Linked DNA regions of Homo sapiens: regions 1, 2 and 3 are each linked to region 4. Evidence: promoter capture Hi-C in 16 types of primary human blood cells and fetal thymus (Javierre and others, 2016). All regions are on one chromosome and are shown on one strand. Each heading gives the region's core, a stretch centred on a gene start or on the middle of the fragment in contact. The rest is flanking DNA. Distances are from core to core; before and after follow the strand shown.

Region 1 (4,650 bases), core at 70-2,569, 690 kb before region 4:
CGTTGGATGGGAAAGTTTGCAGAGGAAACCCACGTGCGGCGGGAAGCTGCCCTGCGAGGCTAGGGGCGGCCTCAGGTGTCCCTTCCCCAAATGGCCTGCCCACCTGGCCTGCCTTGCCCATCGTGCCCGCGGGGGCCGAGCTTTGTGCAGGGAAAGCGTGGCCCAGGAGCGCCTACAAATCCCACAATGCTGCACCAGCAGGACACGGAGAACTACAGCTCCCGCGAGGCCGCGCGCAGAGGTCCGCCTACTCCAAGAGGGCTGCAGAGTCACGTCCAGGCCTCGCTAGTAAACAGCGCCCGGGCGCGGGCGGGCGAGCGAGCGGCAGCCAACGTGCCCCGGGCCGCGGCGCCCCTACCGGCCGCGCGGGCCCCTCGGGGTCCGCCCACCCCCAACACCCACACGCGAGCACGCCCCCGACCCCGCTGCAGCCCCGCTCTGCAAACACGCACAGTGCCCGGCTCCCCGCCCCCACCCCGCGCCGGGAGCCGCGGCATGGCTGCATTGTAGCCGCCCTAGCTACACCCCCACGCGCGCCCCGGGCCCCCAGACCCCCTTGGATGGGGACGACCTCAGATCCCGAGGAAGGAAGGAGAGGAAGGAAGCCGCCGCAGGAGGGGGAAAGAGGAAGCGCGGGGGGGAAGGCCACCAGCACCAAGCATGGCCGGGACTGCTGCAGAACCACGTGGGTCTGTTTGCAATTTACAAACGTCGCGACTCGCCCGCCTGCAGCGGACAAAAGTGGCCGGGGCCGCTTGGGGCCCCCATGCTCCAAGGAAGGAGGGTCCCGGGGCGGCGCGGACCCGGCGTGTGGGGCTGCAGCCGTCCCGGCAGCTAAGAAAGGCTAGCGGGGTCGGCGGCGCGGGCCATGCGTGCGCACACGCGCGCCCGCCCGGGCGGGCTGGCCGGGGGCTGCAGTGGTAGGAAGGGGGTGGGGGGAGGAGGAGTACACACCTACAGAGCCCTCCTATCACTTCTTTCTCTGTTTTCCTGAAATGTTGCAAAGAGGGCACCTTCTGAGTGGGCACCATGAAATACTCCATAGCGATCGGCCCCCCTCCTCTGCACGAGCCAGGTCCCGCGATCAGCCGGAGAATGCAAGATGGAAATCCGAATCAAAGGGCAGCGCCGGACGGAGGTGCAGAATCGGCCGGTCCCAGATGCTGGCGGCGGCGGCGGCGGCGAGGGGAGGGAGGCGGGCGGGAGGGGCGGGAGGGAGGTCTCTCCGGCCTGCCTCCCCGGGCGTGTGTATGTGTGTGTGTGTGTGTGTGTGTGTGTGTGTGTGTGTGTGTGTGTGTGTTTGCAGCTGATCAGATGTCTGTTTCAAGGCGGGAAACAGCTGGTGAAAACTCAGCACTCCCCCGGCCTCCTTCCGCGGAGTAAGGAATTGCATGTAAACAAAGGACTATTTGCAGCGCCCCCCGGGCGGCGCGAGGCCGGGGCGAGAGGGGCGCGGGCCCCCGGGGACCGGCTGCAACCGGGGTCTGCAGGCCTCTCGCGGGGCGCAGGGGGCCGGGGGCCGCGGGCGGGCTTGCGGGGCGCGGCGTGAATGGAGCGAGCTGCGGCCGAGCTACATGCGCCACTATGGGTGATGAGGTCCATCAGCTGACAGGTTGGCAAGCGTTGCAAAAAAAAAAAAAAAAAGGCCAGCCACCGCGCAGGGAGCCCAGCCCGTGCAGCCCGGAGTCCAGCAGCGACTGGCCCAGAGCAGGGTCCGCGCGCTCGGCCGGCCCGCAGGGAGGAGGGGGCGCGGCTGGGTCGGGCGTGCAGCGGCAGCAAGGAAGGCGGCCTGGGGTTCGCGCTTGGGGCTTCTGCTTTTTCACCATTGCAGCTGCACGGAGCGGAGCCTCTCCGGTGTGCTCCCTTCGAGCCGAGCCCAGGGCCCCCTGGAAACTTGCGTCACAGCCACCGCTTCCCACATGTAACTCGGGGCTGACTTCGGAGGCCGGCCAGCTTCCTCCCTCCCGCCTTGCTTAGCTGGCCGCACGGCCGGGACTCCGGATCCTGGGAATCTTGGACCCGGCGACGGGACGGCAAAGGGCGCCTCGGATGCTGGGGCCGCCCTAGGAAGCCGGGGGCCCCGGCAGGGAGGGGAGGGTGGAGGCGGGCCTGAACGGCAGCGGCCCCCGGGCGCAGGCTGCCAGCGCTGCGGGGAGGTCTGCTGGTTGCTGCCGGGTCCCCTGCTATTCCCCCAGACCCGCACTGTTCCCTCCGCGGGCTGAAGGCTGCAGCTTCCCATTCATAACAAAGCCCGTGTGGGACTTGCCCCTCCGCCAGGATGCGCTCCCCAAGAGGGGGTGACGACTTGGGGCAGGGACGGGGACCCTGGCGGCGAGCTTCCGTCCTCCGCTCGCACGCCGCACCTTCCGGCCCCAGGCCCTCCCCTGGCTCCTGGAGGGTTGGCTCCTGGCTCAGGAAGCCCACGCCTGCCTTGGAATGTCCTGGATCCTGCCCACCGCCTTCCAGGTTCCGCCTAAATCGCGCCTCCTAATTTGACTTATTCCTACTAGTAACAATAGTTACTGTTATTATTGGGAAATATTGTTATTAGATGTTGCCAGCACCCGGTGGATGCCGAGCAGTTTTGCTTACACGCTCTCCAATCCTTGAAGCAACCTGTTAGGCAGTTTCTCTAAGGAGAGATCCCAGACCACTTGACCAAAAAAAAGTCTCTGGAAGGCTTACTATGTTTCTACTTAAAAAAAAAAAAAAAAAAAAAAAACTTTCGGCTGGGCGCGTTGGCTCACGCCTGTAATCTCAGCACTTTGGGAGGCTGAGGCGGGTGGATCACCTGAGGTCGGGAGTTCGAGACCAGCCTGACCAACATGGAGAAACCCCGTCTCTACTAAAAATGCAAAATTAGCCGGGGGCCTGGTGGCACATGCCTGTAATCTCAGCTACTCGGGAGGCTGAAGCAGGAGAATCGCTTGAACCCGGGAGGTGGAGGTTGCAGTGAGCCAAGATCATGTCATTGCACTCCAGCCTGGGCAACAAGAGTGAAACTCCGTCTCAAAAAAAAAAAAAAAAAAAAACCTTTTTACTGTTTTTCAACAAATAGAGATAGGAGTCTCACTGTGTTGCCCAGCCTGGTCTTGAACTCCTGGGACTCAAGGAATCCTACCTCTACCTCCCAAATTGCTGGGATTACAAGCATGAGCCATGGATGGCCCTGGTGGGAAGCCTATTTTTAACTGCCCTTAGTGAGCAAGCTATTCTTTTTTTTGTTTTGTTTTGTTTTGTTTTTTAAGACGGAGTCTTGCTTTGTCACCCAGGCTAGAGTGCAGTGGCACGATCTCGGCTCACTGCAACCTCCGCCTCCTGGGTTCAAGTGATTCTTCTGCCTCAGCCTCCCAAGTAGCTGTGGTTACAGGCACACACCACCAAGCCCGGCTAATTTTTGTATTTTTAGTACAGATGGGATTTTGCCCTGTTGGCCAGGCTGGTCTCAAACTCCTGACCTCAGGCGATCTGCCCACCCCGGTCCCCCAAAGTGCCAGGATTACAGGCATCAGCCACCTCACCCAGCAGTGAGCAAGCTATTCTGGTGCATTACTGTCTCCTTATCCTCTCATTTTGCACATGGGAAGACAGAAGCTCACAGCTGCAGACAAGAATGCACTCAGGAGTGCTGGCTGCAAAAAGCCCTGGTTCTTTATATCACACTCATCCTCCCACCTGCCACACCTCACCTCTGATCAGGGCCTTATTTTGTACTTGCTTTTGTTATTTTCCAGAGCAAAGCATTCTGTCATACTTAGTTATATGTGGCCTTCAGAGTGTTCTCTGGCTGTCTCCCTGGTTCAATTTTTTTTTTTTTTTTTGAGACGGAGTCTCACACTGTCGCCCAGGCTGGAGTGCAGTGGCGCGATCTCGGCTCACTGGAACCTCTACCTCCCAGGTTTAAGCGATTCTCCTGTTCTCCTGCCTCAGCCTCCCAAGTAGCTGAGATTACAGGCGCCTGCCACCAGGCCTGGCTAATTTTTGTGTATTTTTAGTAGAGACGAGGTTTCACTATGTTGGCCAGGCTGGTCTCGAACTCCTGACCTCGTAATCCACCTGCCTCCGCCTCCCAAAGTGCTGGGATTACAGGCATGAGCTACTGCACCTGGCCTCCTTGGTCCAATTTTGTCTCCCAGAGACGAGGGACTGTGCTTTTACTCTTTTCTCTCTTCACGGGGGATGGTACAGGGCTGGGCACATGTGTGAACTGCAGAGAGTGATCTGCAAAGCTGATATCCCTGGAGACAGCCTTGGCAGAAAGGATGAGAGGGAGACCCTAGGCACAAGTGGGTGGCCCAGGCAGACCCGGGAGCTGGCTGCCCACACTGAACTGGGTAGTAGGCACTCATCCCCTCTCCTAATAAATCAAGGAAGCCCCCGCAAAGCAGCGGCATTTGGAGTCCGGCCAGGGGATGGCAGAGACCTGCTTTTTCATTTGTCTTGGAAGTCATTTCTAGGCCCACACAGAATCTGGTTCCTGGGGCAAGAGTTGACATCGCAAAATGTAAGAGAGTGACAAAAATTTCAACACCCAAGATAAATTATGTTGGGTTTTCTTTGTTGTTATTGTTGTTTTTTTTTGAGACAGAGTCTCGCTCTGTCACCCACGCTGGAGTCCAATGGCGCAATCTCGGCTCACGGCAACCTCCG
Region 2 (4,734 bases), core at 324-2,823, 540 kb before region 4:
GGCTAATTTTTTTTTCTTTAACTTGTTGTTCAGAGGGGTTTCGCAATGTTGCCCAGGCTGGTCTCGAACTCCTGAGCTCAAAGCAGTCCACCCAAAGTACTGGGATTACCGTGAGTCATGGTATCCAGCCCCTCCCCCTAACTTTTCAATGGCTCTGCACTGCAATCAGAATAAAACCCAACTTCTTCCGGTGGCCCTTGGGTTCTGCAGGACCACTCTGGACTCATCTGTCACCATACTGCTCCGGCCATCCCCTCCATCCACTCATGCTCACTTTCCATTTCTCCACCAGGCTCTTTCTCAATTCTCACCCTTCTGGCCTCAGCTAAAATGCCATCTACTCCAGGCAGCCTTTCCTGACCACGCTACTGAGACTGGCCCCCTCCATTCTCCATCCCAGTCCCTCATGTGTGTTCTTCAATGTCGTTATGAAAACCTCCAATGCTCTTGTTTGTCTGCTTGCTGTCTCCCTCATGAGGCTACAAGTGCCACAGGGGAAGGAAAATGCCGTTGTGTTCACCGGGATGTCTCCAGCAGCTTAGCACAGCATAAAGTGGAAGCAGAGGAAATATAGTCCACACTACAAAAACGGAACCTCTACCCAGACTGCCCTGACTTGCTCTGGGACCCTGATGGGGTCACTTGAGGTCAACTCCTAGGCCCAGTTATCGGAGGACACTCCCAGGCCTTACAAATAACACGGAAAGCGGAAGAGCAGAGCTGACATCGTTTCCAAGGCGCACCCCTCATCAGTCCTCCTGCCGTTTCGGGGGTCCGAAGGGTCTCCCGGCACCTGGCTCAGCAATTCTTTGGGGCTCCACCTGCTCAGGCTTCCCCAGGCCCCACCCAGCCGTGGCAGCATCACCGAGATAAAGAAAGAGCTTGCGCCAGCGGCGAGAGGAGGAAGCACCGGCGGAAACCCGAGGGAGGGGCGCGTGCGGCCGAGGGGCTCCCTCCCCACCACTGACACACTTGGGCTCGCCGGGGCCAGAGGAGAGAGGGGCGTCTCCCCACAGCCCAGCCAGGGGCAGGGGCGACCCGGGGCGGCAGGGAGGAGGAGCCAGGCGCCGGCAGCGCCCCGAGCCCCGGCTCCCGGCGAGGCCGACCGGAAGCTGGGAAGGCAGGCGGCCTCGCAGGCCTGGGCCCCGGCTAGGAGGGCTGCGCCGCCTCGGGGGTCCCGGGGCGAGGTGGGCGAGGCGGGCAGACCGCCAGGGTCACCGAGCGCCAGAGCGAGTCACGGGAGTGCCGGACTCTGCCCTCCGGCGGCGACGAAACGGCCCGGACGCCGGGGCCCTGGCCTGAAGGGGGGTTCCCCGGGGATGGAGGTCTCGGGGTTCCAGACGGCCCTGGAGGGCACCCCTGTGGGGTCCGGGCAGGGGGAGGGGCAGCCGGACGGGGCCCGAGGCGACAGCGCCCGGTCCTCGGGCCGGACTCACCTCGCGGCGGGGCGGCCGAGCCTCGGTGTGCCGGAACTTGGACACCCTGAAGCGGTTCATGGCGACGGGCACGGCGGCGGACGCGTCTTCGAGGACCCCGGGCGTCGGGTCTCAGGTGCACGCTGAGCAACCGCGACTCCCGCTGCCTCGGCCCCACCCGGGACCCAATGCCGCGGTCACGCCCCCGGCGCGCCCCACTGCCAATCGCAGCCGTCTCCGGCCCCCTGGGCCACGCCCCCAAGCCCCTCTCCTTTCGCGCGCGCACCACCGGTCCCGCCTCCCGGCCAATCCAGGTACGGCCGCCCCGCGAGGCCACGCCCTGATACCGAGGGGACGGACTGGCGCGGGTGGGAGGTCACGTGGGGCGCAGCTGTCAGCCCACGTCTCCTGCGGTGCTTGCTTGCGTGGGGTCTCGGCTGCAGCATTCGCGATTTTGTGTGCAGGATTTGCTGTGGAGTCTTTGCGGTGTACCTAGCACGCCTTCCAGCACTATCTACCTCTTCCTGTAGAGAGGGGAGAAATTAGCTCCATTTCAGAGACAGGAAACCCCCGGCTAAAGGAGAGTGTAAACTGTCGGTCCCCAGGTCACACCAGTGGTAAGAGGCAGAGGGGGAACAGGGGCCCAGGTCTAAAGCAAATCCCTGTCCACCGGGCCTACTCAAAAGCCTCTGCATCCGGCCAGGCGCTCTGCATCCGGCCAGGCGCGGTGGCTCAGGTCTGTAATCCCGAACTTTGGGAGACTGAGGCAGGAGTATCCCTTGAGCCCAAGAGGTCGAGGCTGCAGTTATCTGTGACCGTGCCACTGCACTCCAGCCTGGGAGACAGAAAGAGACCCTGCCTCTAAAAATAATAATAATAATAGCTTTTAATTTTTCTTTAGTATTTATTCATTTATTTGACACGGAGTCCCTGTCACCCAGGCTGGAGTGCAGTGGCGCGATCTCAGCTCACTGCACCCTCTGCCTCGCGGGTTCAAGCAATTCTCTTGCCTCAGCCTCCCGAATAGCTGGGATTACAGGCGCCTGCCACCGCGCCCAACTAATTTTTTATTTTTAGTAAGAGACGGGGTTTCACCATGATGGTCAGGCTGGTCTCGAACGAGACTCAAGCAGTCCTCCCAACTTGGCCTGCCAAAGTGTGGGGATTATAGGAATGAGCCAACGCACCCAGCTGATTCTTGCATTTCTAAGGTTTGAAAAGCAATGCTTACATTTTATCTTAGTTCGGGCAGAAGTGTATTTACTGTGAACCAAAGTCACTTGTGGTTTATTGAAAAGGCTTTTTGTTTGTTTGTTTTGAGACAGAGTCTCACTCTGTTGCCCAGGCTGGAGTGCAGTGGTGTCATCTCAGCTCACTGCAACCTCCACCTCCTGAGTTCAAGCGATTCTCCTGCTTCAGCCTCCCAAGCAGCTGGGATTACAGGTGTGCGCCACTACTCCTAATTTTTGTATTTTTAGTAGAGATGGGATTTTGCCATGTTGGCCAGGCTGGTCTCAAACTCCTGACCTCAAGTGATCCACCTGCCTCAGCCTCCCAAAGTGCTGGGATTAGAGGCATAAGCCACTGCGCCCAGTCCAAAAAGGTTTTTAGAAAATCATCAGGTTGGCCGGGCGCGGTAGCTCACGCCTGTAATCCCAGCACTTTGGGAGGCCAAGGTGGGTGGATCACCAGGTCAGGAGTTCAAGACCAGCCTGGCCAAGATGGTGAAACCCTGTCTGTCCTAAAAATATAAAAATTAGCTGGGCGTGGTGGTGGGTGCTTGTAATCCCAGCTACTTGGGAGGCTGAGGCAGAGAACTGCTTGAACCCGGGAGGCGGAGGTTGCAGTGAGTCGAGATCGTGCCATTGAACTCCAGCTTGGGTGACAGGGCGAGACTCTGTCTCAAAAAAAAAAAAAAAAAGAAAAAAAAAGAAAATCATCAAGTGGCTGGGCATGGTGGCTCACGCCTATAATCCCAGCACTTTGGGAGGCCGAGGTGGGTGGATCACCTGAGGTCAGGAGTTCAAGACCAGCCTGGCCACCATGGTGAAACCCCGTCTCTACTAAAAATACAAGGCGTGGTGGCAGGTGCCTGTAATCCCAGCTACTCGGGAGGCTGTGGCAGGAGAATCACTTGAACCCGGGAGGTGGAGGTTGCAATGAGCCGAGATCATGCCATTGCACTCCAGTATGGGAGACAAAAGCGAGATTTTGTCTCAAAAAAAAAAAGAAAGAAAGAAAATCATCAGGACAGTGGTCCCACTGGATCCTAGGCGACCGAGGCACAGCTCATCATCCCCTTTCATAGGGAACTGCACCTGCTACAGACATCACAGACCAGAACATCTGGACCACACATTCCTCACCCACTTGGAATTGTCCTATACTCTGTGTGAAGTAAAGAAAATGCTATACTTAAGACAAATCATGCCCCTGAAGAGCTGGGCTCAGGCTCTTCTGCCCTCTGTAAAAGATCTCTGAGCTCACATGGGAGAGTTGCAGCCATTGGCAGCCATGAACTTGGCCAGTCCCATTATACTTCAAATGATCAGTGGTTTCAGCAAGAAATCACAGAGACCGTCTTGTCTCCCATTGCCTTCAGCCCAGCACTGTCGGGGAGCACCATTAAACCCCTTCGCAGCTCTCACAGATATCCACAGCTCAGGAGATGGGGAAAGTGCTCTGTGGAATTGCTGGTCTAGTGAAATGAAAGTGTGGAGGGGGAAACGCTTACGACTTTGTGTTCCCTTTGCAAGTAACATTTGTTTCTCCTTTTTTTTTTTTTTTTTTTTGAGATAAAGTCTCTGTTGCCAAGGCAGTGCAATGGTGTGATCTCAGCTCACCATAACCTGTCTCCTGGATTAAAGTGATTTTCCTACCTCAGCCTCCCGAGTAGCTGGGATTACAGGTGCATACCACCATGCCTGGCTAATTTTTGAATTTTTAGTAGATATGGGATTTCGCCATGTTGCCCAGGCTGGTCTCAAACTCCTGAGCTCAGGCTGTCTGCCCACCTCGGCCTCCCAAAGTGCTAGGATTACAAGCGTGAGCCACTGTGCCCGGCCTGTTTCTCCTTAAAGCTCACATTTTTGAGCTTCTGCCTGGAGAACACGGGATCATATTCTGACTGGCACTGAGGATAGGTGTAGCTTGTGGCTTCTGCAGTCTTTGGCAACAAGCCTGGGATGGATCCATTTGTGTCCAGTTGCAGCAGAAGTCCTTGAAAGGCAGGGCAGCAGTTTGTACCCATGGTAGTAATAAATGCTTGCCCTGCCTCTCTTTTGTTGTGAAAAGCAAATGAAAATAAGCATGAGAAAGT
Region 3 (4,569 bases), core at 274-2,773, 610 kb before region 4:
TGGGACAGAGCTGGGCTCAAAAGAGGTCTCTGACACCATGGGATGCATGACTATGGTGGAGTCAAAACTGTCTGGGGCTCAGGTTCCTTATCTGTAAAATAAGGACAATGACAGCAGGACTTCATAAACACTAAATGAGAGACTCTACATAAAGCCTTAGCTCAGGGGCTGGCACTTGTACGCCGTTAGCTGTTACATTATCCTTATTACTATGTTAGTTAAGAAGTGGCTCCCCGAACCAGCTGCAACAGAGTCACTTGGGGAACTTACGTGTGCAGAACCTCCAGGGATAGAGCTCAAGAACCTGAACTTTTTTTTTCCCCCTCTTTTTCTTTTTGAGAGAGTTTTGCCCTGTCGCCCAGACTGGAGTGCAGTGGCACAATCTTGGTTCACTGCAGCCTCTGCCTCCTGGGTTCAAGCGATACTGGCGCCTCAACTTCCCAAGCAGCTGGGATTACAGGTGTGTGCCACCATGCCTGGCTAACATATGTATATATTATGTGTGTGTGTGTGTATATATATATATAAAATACATGATATATAAAAATATATATAACATAATAATATGTAGTATACATAAATGTATACGGTATATATAATACATATATATAATTTTTTTTTTGAGACGCAGTCTCACCCTGTCGCCCAGGCTAGAGTGCACTGGCGGATCTCGGCTCATTGCAACCTCTGTCTCGCGGGTTCAAGCGTCTGTCCTGCCTCAGCCTCCCGGGTAGCTTGGACTACAGGCGCGCACCACCCCACCCGGCTAATTTTTTAAATTTTTTGGTGGAGACCGGGTTTCATCATGTTGGCCAGGCTGGTCTCGAACTCCTGACCTCGTGATCCGCCGCCTCGGCCTCCCAGAGTGCTGGGATTACAGGCGTGAGCCACCGCGCCCAGCCAAACCTGCACTTTTAAAGCTACCCTAGGTGACCTGACAGTGTGGCGCAGGTCTGTTGACTGGCTCTACGTGCCAACGATATCACACAAACGCTCCGTGCTCGGTGTCTCGGGGCCTAGTTCAAGTCCCAGGTCAGCCACTTCCCTGGAAAGGCCAGCTTTCCACTGGGGATAACAACAGGGCAGCAACATCGACTCTGCAGCGCTGTAAGGTTCCAGGGCAGGGGAGGCGCTCACCAGCCAGACTCATGCTCCACCGCTGCCCACGGCTGCTCGCTCACACGCGGGCTAGGCACAGCGCGACCACGTTTGCCCGGCCTCTTCCAGGCAGACGGTTTTCCCTGGCCCTGAGGCCGCCGGTGCCGCCGCTGCCGGCCTCGATTCCCCCGGGTGCAACGCCCCCAGACCATGCTTCCCGCCGGGCACGCAGGGGGCGCACGGCGCCCGCCGCCCAGCCCGGAGCTCGCCGCCCGGCCCCCGGCCCCCGGCCCGACTCGGCTTCCCCTCCCCGGTAGCGCCCGACTCGGGGCTCACCATGGCAGCCGCTCTGCCTCCGGGGCTCAAACTCCGACTTCCTGGCCCCGCGGCCGGGGATCAAGCGTGGTCGGCGGGTCAGAGGTCAAGGAAAGCCGCAGAGAGCGCGTGCGCGATACGGCGCTGGGCATGCGCATTGCCTCAGTCTAAGGGCGGGCCACCGGGAGCGTCTTAGCGGCTCGGGGCGGGGTCGGAGGCGGGGTTTGACTGAGCCTGCGTCGGGCTCTGGATAACTGGGGGCGGGCTTGGGAGGGCAAGGGGCGTTACCGGGAGTCTCAATTGCCCGCGTGCTTACCCCAGTGCGCTGGAGCAGCTAAGCACATCGGTCAGACGTGGGGCGATTTCTGCCCTTGATTTTGCCAAAATATTTGGGAATGCAACATTATATGAAATCAATGAACATAATATGGAGTAGGATGCTAAATTCTCAAAAATACTTTAGAAAATAGAAAACTTCAAAATAGGTTTCATCCACATTCCTCCTGCCTGAGAAGCTCGTTCCCTTCTTCAAATCTTTGCTCAAATGTCACCTCAATGAGGCCCACCTGGACCCCTTAAAACGCCGTGACTTGCCCTCCATGAATGAAAAAAGTAACAGCTTTATTGAGATATAATCCATACACTGTAGATTTCATGATTTTCAAGTGCACAGTCCAATGCCTTTTATTCACAGAGCTGTGCCACTGTCACCACTATTAGTTCCAGAACGTTTTCATCACCCATTAGTCACTCCCCAGCCCCCTCCCCCAGCCCCTGTCAACCACTCATTTTTCTCTCTATGGATTCACAGGTTCCGGACATTTCATAGAAATGGAATCATACAAGCCAGGCGTGGTGGCTCATGCCTGCAATCTCAAAACTTTGGGAGGCCGAGGTGGATCGCTTGAGGTCAGGAACTCAAGGCCAGGCTGGGCAACATGGTGAAACCCCATCTCTACAAATACAAAAATTAGCCGGGTGTGGTGGCAGGTGCCTGTAATCCCAGCTACTTGGGAGGCTGAGTGGTGGATCTCTTGAGCCCGGGAGGTACAGGCTGCAGTGAGCTGTGATCACTGCACTCCAGCCTGGGTGACAGAGTCAGGCCCTGCCTCAAAAAAAAAAAAAAAAAAAAAAAAGGTAAAAATGAAAAATGAAAAAAAAGAAGAAATTGAATCATACAATGTGCAGCCTTTTGTGACTGGCTTATCCTCCCTTCTTGTCTCTATTTTTCTTCCAAGACTCTGATCACCCTCTACCATACCACATAATTTACTTATTTATTTTATTTATCATTTTGAGACAGGGTCTCACCCTGTCGCCCAGGCTGGAGTCCAGTGGCACAATCCTGCCTCACTGCAACCTCCACCTCCCAGGTTCAGGCGATGCTCATGCTTTAGCCTCCTGAGTAGCTGGGATTACAGGCATGGACCACCATGCCCCATTAATTTTTGAATTTTTAGTAGAGACAGGGTTTCACCATGTTGGCCAGGCTGGTCTTGAACTACTGGTCTCAAATGATCCACCCGCCACAGCCTCCCAAAGTGCTGGGATTATAGGCATGTGACACTGTGCCCAACCGGTTTTTTATTTTTAAATTATTTTTCCTTTTTTTTTTTTTTTTGAGATGAAGTCTTGCTCTGTCACCCAGGCTGGAGAGCAGTGGCCCAATCTTGGCTCACTGCGATCTCCACCTCCTGGGTTCAAGTGATCCTCCCACTTCAGCCTCCGAAAGTGCTGGGATTACAGGTGTAAGCCACCGTGCCCAGCCAAAAAAAAATTTTTTTTTTTCAAGATAGGGTCTCACTCTGTTGCCCAGGCTGCAGTACAGTAGCATGATCATGGCTCACTGCAGTCTTGACCTTCCAGCCTTGAGTGATACTTTCACCTCAGCTTTCTGAGTAGCTGGGACCACAGGCATGTGCCAACACATGTGGTTAATGTTTGTTTTTTGTCTTTTTGAGAGCGTCTCCCTGTTGCCCAGCCTGGAGTGCAGTGGCATGACCTCGGCTCACTGCAACCTCTGCTTCCTGGGTTCAAGAGATTCTCTTGCCTCAGCCTCCTGAGTAGCTGGGACTACAGGCATGGGCCACCATGTCCGGCTAATTTTTTGTATTTTTAGTAAAGACGGGGTTTCACCGTGTTAGCCAGGATGGTCTCGTGCTCCTGACCTCGTGATCCGCCTGCCTTGGCCTCCCGAAGTGCTCGGATTACAGGCGTGAGCCACCGCGCCCAGCTAATGTTTGTATTCTTTGTAGAGACAAGGGTTCCCCTATGTTGCCCAGTCTGACCTCAAACTCCTGGGTTCAAGCAATCCTCCCACCTTGGCCTCCCTTTATTTTTATGTTTATTGTTGAGAATCTGTTTCCTTCCACTAGAATGGGAGTTCCTTTTGGGCAAGCATTTCCTCTCTCTTCTCTGCTGTTAGATGTCAAGCGCCTGGAAGAGCATCTGGCGCACAGCATTCGGCAAATGGTGGGATGAAAGTTGGGCCACCTGGAATCCTACTCTACACCGCTGCCCTTCTTCCTCTTCCTCCTGGCCTCCACATTCCTCTCTCTGTGCCCACATTGTACTTCCTTGCCTCGGAAGTGGCTCTCTCCCTGGCTGGCTCCTCATCAGCCTTCAAGTCTTGGCTCTTAGCTGAAAGTCACCTTCTCAGGCCCTGAATTCCCTGCCTCGCTGCATCCCAGTTGCTTCCTGTCCCACAGGTTTTTTTGTTTGTTTGTTTGTTTTTTGAGACTGAGTCTTGCTCTGTCACCCAGGCTGGAGTGCAATGGCAGGATCTTGACTCACTGCAACCTCTGACTCCTGGGTTCAAGCAATTCTCCTCCCTCAGCTTCCCAAGTAGCTTGGATTACAGGCGCTTACCACTACACCTGGCTACTTTTTGTATTTTTAGTAGAGACAGCGTTTTACCATGTGGGCCAGGCTGGTCTTGAACTCCTGGCCTCAAACGATCCTCCCACCTTGGCCTCCCAAAGTGCTAGTATTATAGGCATGAGCCACCGTGCCCAGCCAGTTTCTCTTCTTTACTGCTGTCTTCACACTCTATATGCTCGTGTGCAGTCTGGTTCCCCTGCATAAGGAGGCTGTAAGAAGCTGAAGGTCCTTGCAAGACCTTATCTCTCCTGTCCTTTATAGCATCCCGCCATCCAG
Region 4 (4,806 bases), core at 178-2,677:
ATGTCACTCTCCCAAGGGAGGCCCCCTTACTCCCTGTTTTATTTATTTATTTACTTATTTATTTTGAGACCGAGTCTTGCTTTGTTGCCCAGGCTGGAGTGCAGTGGCCAGGTAACAGCTCACTGCAGCTTTGAACTTCTGGGCTCAAGGGATCCTCCTGCCTCAGCCTCTTGAGTAGCTGGGACCACAGGCACGTGCCAACACGCCTGGCTAATTTTTTTTTTTTTTTTTTGCGACGGAGCTTTGTTCTTCTTGCCCAGGCTGGAGTGCAGTGGCGCAGTCTCGGCTCACTGCAACCTCCGCCTCCTTGATTCAAGCGATTCTCCTGCCTCAGCCTCCCGAGTAGCTGAGATTACAGGTATACGCCACCATGCCCGGCTAATTTTGTATTTTAGTAGAGACGGGGTTTCCTCATATTGGCCATGCTGTTCTCGAACTCCTGACCTCAGCTGATCTGCCTGCCTTGGCCTCTCAGTGTGCTGGGATTACAGGCGTGAGCCACCGCGCCCTGCCTAAACTAAAAAAAAATTTTTTTGTAGAGATAGGTTCTTGCTATGTTACCCAGGGTGGTCTCCAACTCCTGGGTTCAAGCGGTCCTCCCGCTTCCGCCTCCTAAAGTGTTTGGATTACAGGCGTGAGACATGGCGCCCGGCCTCTTACCTGTTTTAAATTGTCCTTTCTCTCCGCTGGCTCCTTGAGCCCCTTTCCTGCTTATTTTTCTCTCGTTAGAGTTTTTCACTACCTCACACATCATATATTTGCCTTATTTATTGAGTGTCTGTCTCCCCACCGTAGTATAAACTCCACGAGGGCAGGGATTCGTGCGTGTGGCTCACCGGCGGCTCTCCAGCGCCTGGACAGGGCTGACCCCCAGCAGGCGCTCTGTGAAGGTGTGCAGAGTGGGCGAAGGTGCATGCGCGGGCCGTGGGGCGGGGACAGGTGGAGGAGCCAGTCAGACCCAAGTGCAGCGGGACGAGGGCGAGGTTAATCTGAGCAAGAAAAGCGTAAATTCTGCTTATCTACAAATGTAAACAGTACTGTCGGCCAGACGCAGGGTCCGGGGCGGGTCGGCCCGGACTCAGGGTCTGCTTGGAGGCAGAGCTAGATTAGGGCGGGGTCGTCCTGTGGCCTACCATTCCCCGAGGCTGAGGGCCTTGGAGGGCGGGGCCAGTGAAGGGGGAGGGGACTTCCTGAGGTGTGACCAATCTAGAGAAAGGACTGGGCTGAGGGCGTGGTCAAACAAGCGACATCTAAAAATAAGGGGCGGGGCTAGAACCAGGGGGAGTTCGCCTGGGGCGGGGCCAGAGTGGGGCGGGACCAGTTAGGGGGCAGGGCCAACCTGGGCGGGGCCATGGCCGGGGACGTGGGCGGGACCAGGTCAGGGGCGGGGCCAGGCCAGGATCTCCGCTGTCCCGGGTCCTGGAGCTCTCTCGGCCCGGCAGGTTTCGCTCCCGCCCCTCCGGCCTTCCACAGCTGTCCTGGCCGCAGGGTGTTCAAGGCGGGACACACCAGGCTAGAGATCCGCGATCGGGCCCCGCCTCAGGTACTGCGCTCCAGGCCAGGCGGGCGCGGGTAAGCGCTCAGCTCCCGAGCCAGGCGGGCTTCCAGGGCACTTCCCCTAGGCTGCATTCCCAAAGGCTCCCGAGGGCGAGGGTGAGCAAAGCTGCGGGGACCTGTGTGTGCATGCGTGTGCGATTGCCTCTACGTGTGTGTACGTGTGTGTGCATGTGCGCACGGGTGTGTGTGCGTGTGTGCACGTCTGTGCACACCAGGGGAATTGCGTGCGTGGAGCTGGGCAGGTGCGTGTTTCAGGGTGTGTGTGCAAAGTTGGAGGCGTGTGCAAAAGCAGTCCCGTGTGGGAGGGAAACCTGCGTGTGTACATGTGTGTGATAGAGACAGTGCCTGTGAAATGTGGTGAAGGCTGTGTGTGTATGTCAGGGTGTCTGGGAGGAAAATGGGAGGGCAGGTGCAAGGAGACTCGGGGGTGGGCTGTAGGCCAGCAAGTCTGTGGCAAGCTGCGGGGTGCATGCGTGAATAGAACCGTGGGAGTGTAAGAATTGCAAATGTGTGTGTGTCTGTGTGGGTGGCCGTAAGGCTTCTGGGGGCCCTCAGTGTGAAGGGGTGGGGGTAGAGGAAAGTTTGGGGGTGCTGACTGCTCTTGGAAGGCTGAGCGTGGTCTGGGGCCATGGCTAATGACAGGGAAGCTGTTGGGGCTTGGCCTGGAGTAATTTGGGGGGAATATCAGCCTTCTCAATTTGAAGGCTGGGGAGCTGTGTGGGTGGGGCCAGGGGCTGCCCCTTACACTTGGTGGGTGGTGTCCCTGCTTCCCGAGGTGGGAGCTGCAACCTCACCAGTCACTCCTCGCCCCAGGCTCTGTGCACACCCCTGCCTGGTGACCTCCATTGGTGCTCCAGCGTGAACATGGTGCAAAGATACCAGTCTCCTGTCCGAGTCTACAAGTACCCGTTTGAGCTGGTCATGGCGGTGAGTGACTCCTGATTCTTGGGCCCCCATGTGACAGTTGGAGGGGCTTGAGATCAGCTATGGCGGTAGGAAGACGGAGCTCCTTAGACTCCCAGATCAGAAGGAATTAGTGAGTTACTCAGCTGACCTGGTGGGTTTAACTTCTATCCAGTGACCTCTCTGTCCAACCATCCTATCCTCGGCCCAGTGACCAAAACACAAAGTCTTTCTTCCTTCTCCTTGTTGAAGCTGACCTGCTCCCTTACTTTAGACTCTCCTGATAGAAAACAAAGGTATCAGGGGCCAAGCCACTGCTGTCATTTCATATAATGGCATATCACAGTGATAAATGGAATGGTGGTGATAATGACAACAGCTGTTTATTGAATGTTTACAGCACTGTCTTAACAGATGATGTTTCTTCCAATTCCCGATAGCTGTTATTTTCCCATGTAACCTCCATGAAACTGAGGCTTTGACAGGTGAAGGGATGACACTAAGTTCTGTATCTACGCAGAGGTGGAGTCGGGGCTGAGATCCCCACAAAGGAGACTCTAGAACCTCACATTTGACCACAGAGCCCTCCTTCTGCTCACAGACCCCCTTCCCTCCCCTTTAAGGAAGCTGACACTGGGACGAGAGAGAGAATGAGTGGGTAGGTTTGCTTTGTGATGTACTCTGTGTTGTGCAGCAAGTCAGTTGGAGGCCTAGAATTGGCTGCCAGATCCTTGGCCCCCAGGATCACTGGTCTTTTCACCCTGGGGGCAGAAGCTGGACATAGGTGGATGTGGAATTCCTTCTTGGCTGCATCCCTCTGCCTCTGAGCACTTCACTTCCCTGCTCAGTAACATGGGGACAATGCTACAAGGTTGCGGGGAGGAGTAAATGAGATAGTTCTTGGTGCTCCTTGCTGTGTGCCGGGCACACAGTAGGAGCTCACAAAATATGCTGTCGCTGTTATTACACCGAAGTCTTGTAAATTAATGTATTGAAAGTGTAAGAAACATTAGCATCCACCCCCATCTGTCCCACCCCAGCACTGACTGCTTAACCCCAGCCTTCTATCCAGGGACTTTCATATCTCTTGGTGGCTGTGTGTGCCTGTGTGTCCAGTCCTGTCTTATTCTATGAATCTACATGCGTATATGTTTATTGTCACACAGAGGATTTAAAAGCATCACCAAAATCATCCACATACCTTGTGCTGTTACAGGCAGATGGTTCTAGGACAGCAAAGAGGCAGGAACTGGCTTAGGGTCATATTCTAGCTCCCCAATTGACGAGCTGAGTGACTGTGGGGCAAGTCACTTCACCTCCATGAGCCTCCACTCCCCATCACCAATGGGAATCTCCTGGCTTCCAAATCCTGGTGTCATGCTGTGGATTAAATGAGTCAATGTGTATAAAGCTCCTGGTACGGGGCTGACGCAGATCAAATGCTCACTGAGATCCAGCTATGATCGTTACTGTTTTTGCAAGTGCCTGAGTGACTTTGCTTCTGCGTAATGGGAGTGGAACACCAGGGGATGGTGAAGAGATCCAGGGACGTGAATTCAGATGCTTTAGGGTTCTGCTGTGCTCTGCCATGCTCTGGTTGTATGTTTTTAGAAAGTTGCTGAACTTAAGCCGGGTGCAGTGGCTCACACCTGTAATCCCAGCGCTTTGGGAGGCCGAGGTGGGTGGATCACAAGGTCAGGAGATCAAGACAATCCCGTGTAACACGGTGAAACCCCAACTCAACTAAAAATACAAGAAAAATTAGCCGGGCGTGGTGGCGCGCACCTGTAGTCCCATCTACTCGGGAGGCTGAAGCAGGAGAATCTCTTGAACCCAGGAGGCAGACGTTGCAGAGAGCCGAGATTGCGCCGCAACACTCCAGCATGGGTGACAGAGCGAGACTCCGTCTCAACAACAACAACAGCAACAACAACAACAACAAAGTTGCTGAACTTTTCTGAGCCCCATTTTCTTTTACTTTTTCCAGACTGAGTCTCACTCTGTTGCCCAGACTGGAGTGCAGTGGTGCCATCTTGGCTCACTGCAACCTCTGCCTCCCAGGTTCAAGCCATTCTCGTGCCTCAGCCCCCTGAGTAGCTGAGATTACAGATGCACACCACCATGCCCAGGTAATTTTTGTATTTTCAGTATAGACGGGGTTTCATCACGTTGGCCACGCTGGTCTCGAACTGCTGACCTCAAGTGATCCACTAGCCTCGGCCTCCCAAAGTGCTGGGATTACAGGGGTGACTCACTGCATCCGGCCCCTATTCATATAGCCTTAAGTGCTATATTCATGGGCATGGCTTATTTTCAAGTGCAATGATTGTAAATATTTTCAGAACC

What was found. Contacts are between HindIII fragments. The CHiCAGO score rates a contact against its expected background, and 5 or more counts as called.
Region 1: a contact is called between the fragment with the promoter of TFAP4 here and the fragment with the promoter of SEC14L5 in region 4, in 1 of 17 cell types (neutrophils). The highest score is 5.4, in neutrophils.
Region 2: the fragment with the promoter of CORO7 here is called in contact with the fragment with the promoter of SEC14L5 in region 4 in 2 of 17 cell types (neutrophils and M2 macrophages); the score reaches 10.0 in neutrophils.
Region 3: the fragment with the promoter of PAM16 here is called in contact with the fragment with the promoter of SEC14L5 in region 4 in 3 of 17 cell types (neutrophils, fetal thymus and naive CD8 T cells); the score reaches 8.7 in neutrophils.

The regions. Positions count from the first base shown.
Region 1 is chr16:4,271,704-4,276,353 of GRCh38, forward strand. It overlaps TFAP4 (transcription factor AP-4), which reads right to left and starts at 1,320. Exons shown (of 7, transcript NM_003223.3): 1 at 955-1,320. The coding sequence starts at 1,043. RefSeq lists enhancers at 1-513, 55-244, 1,145-1,194, 1,491-2,466 and silencers at 325-484, 845-894, 1,615-2,264. The HindIII fragment of the contact is 8,835 bases long and covers 1-4,650 here.
Region 2 is chr16:4,415,023-4,419,756 of GRCh38, forward strand. CORO7 (coronin 7) reads right to left here and starts at 1,574. Exons shown (of 28, transcript NM_024535.5): 1 at 1,437-1,574. The coding sequence starts at 1,496. CORO7-PAM16 (CORO7-PAM16 readthrough) reads right to left here and starts at 1,574. Exons shown (of 31, transcript NM_001201479.2): 1 at 1,437-1,574. The coding sequence starts at 1,496. LOC124903635 (a long non-coding RNA gene) reads right to left here. Exons shown (of 3, transcript XR_007064963.1): 3 at 1,703-1,939. The HindIII fragment of the contact is 33,533 bases long and covers 1-4,734 here.
Region 3 is chr16:4,349,798-4,354,366 of GRCh38, forward strand. It overlaps PAM16 (presequence translocase associated motor 16), which reads right to left and starts at 1,524. Exons shown (of 5, transcript NM_016069.11): 1 at 1,435-1,524. The coding sequence starts at 1,437. All of the region lies in intron 27 of CORO7-PAM16 (CORO7-PAM16 readthrough), which reads right to left. The HindIII fragment of the contact is 23,481 bases long and covers 1-4,569 here.
Region 4 is chr16:4,956,903-4,961,708 of GRCh38, forward strand. SEC14L5 (SEC14 like lipid binding 5) reads left to right here and starts at 1,428. Exons shown (of 16, transcript NM_014692.2): 1 at 1,428-1,543; 2 at 2,371-2,484. The coding sequence starts at 2,422. RefSeq lists silencers at 1,313-1,522, 1,321-1,616 and an enhancer at 1,420-1,955. The HindIII fragment of the contact is 6,723 bases long and covers 1-4,806 here.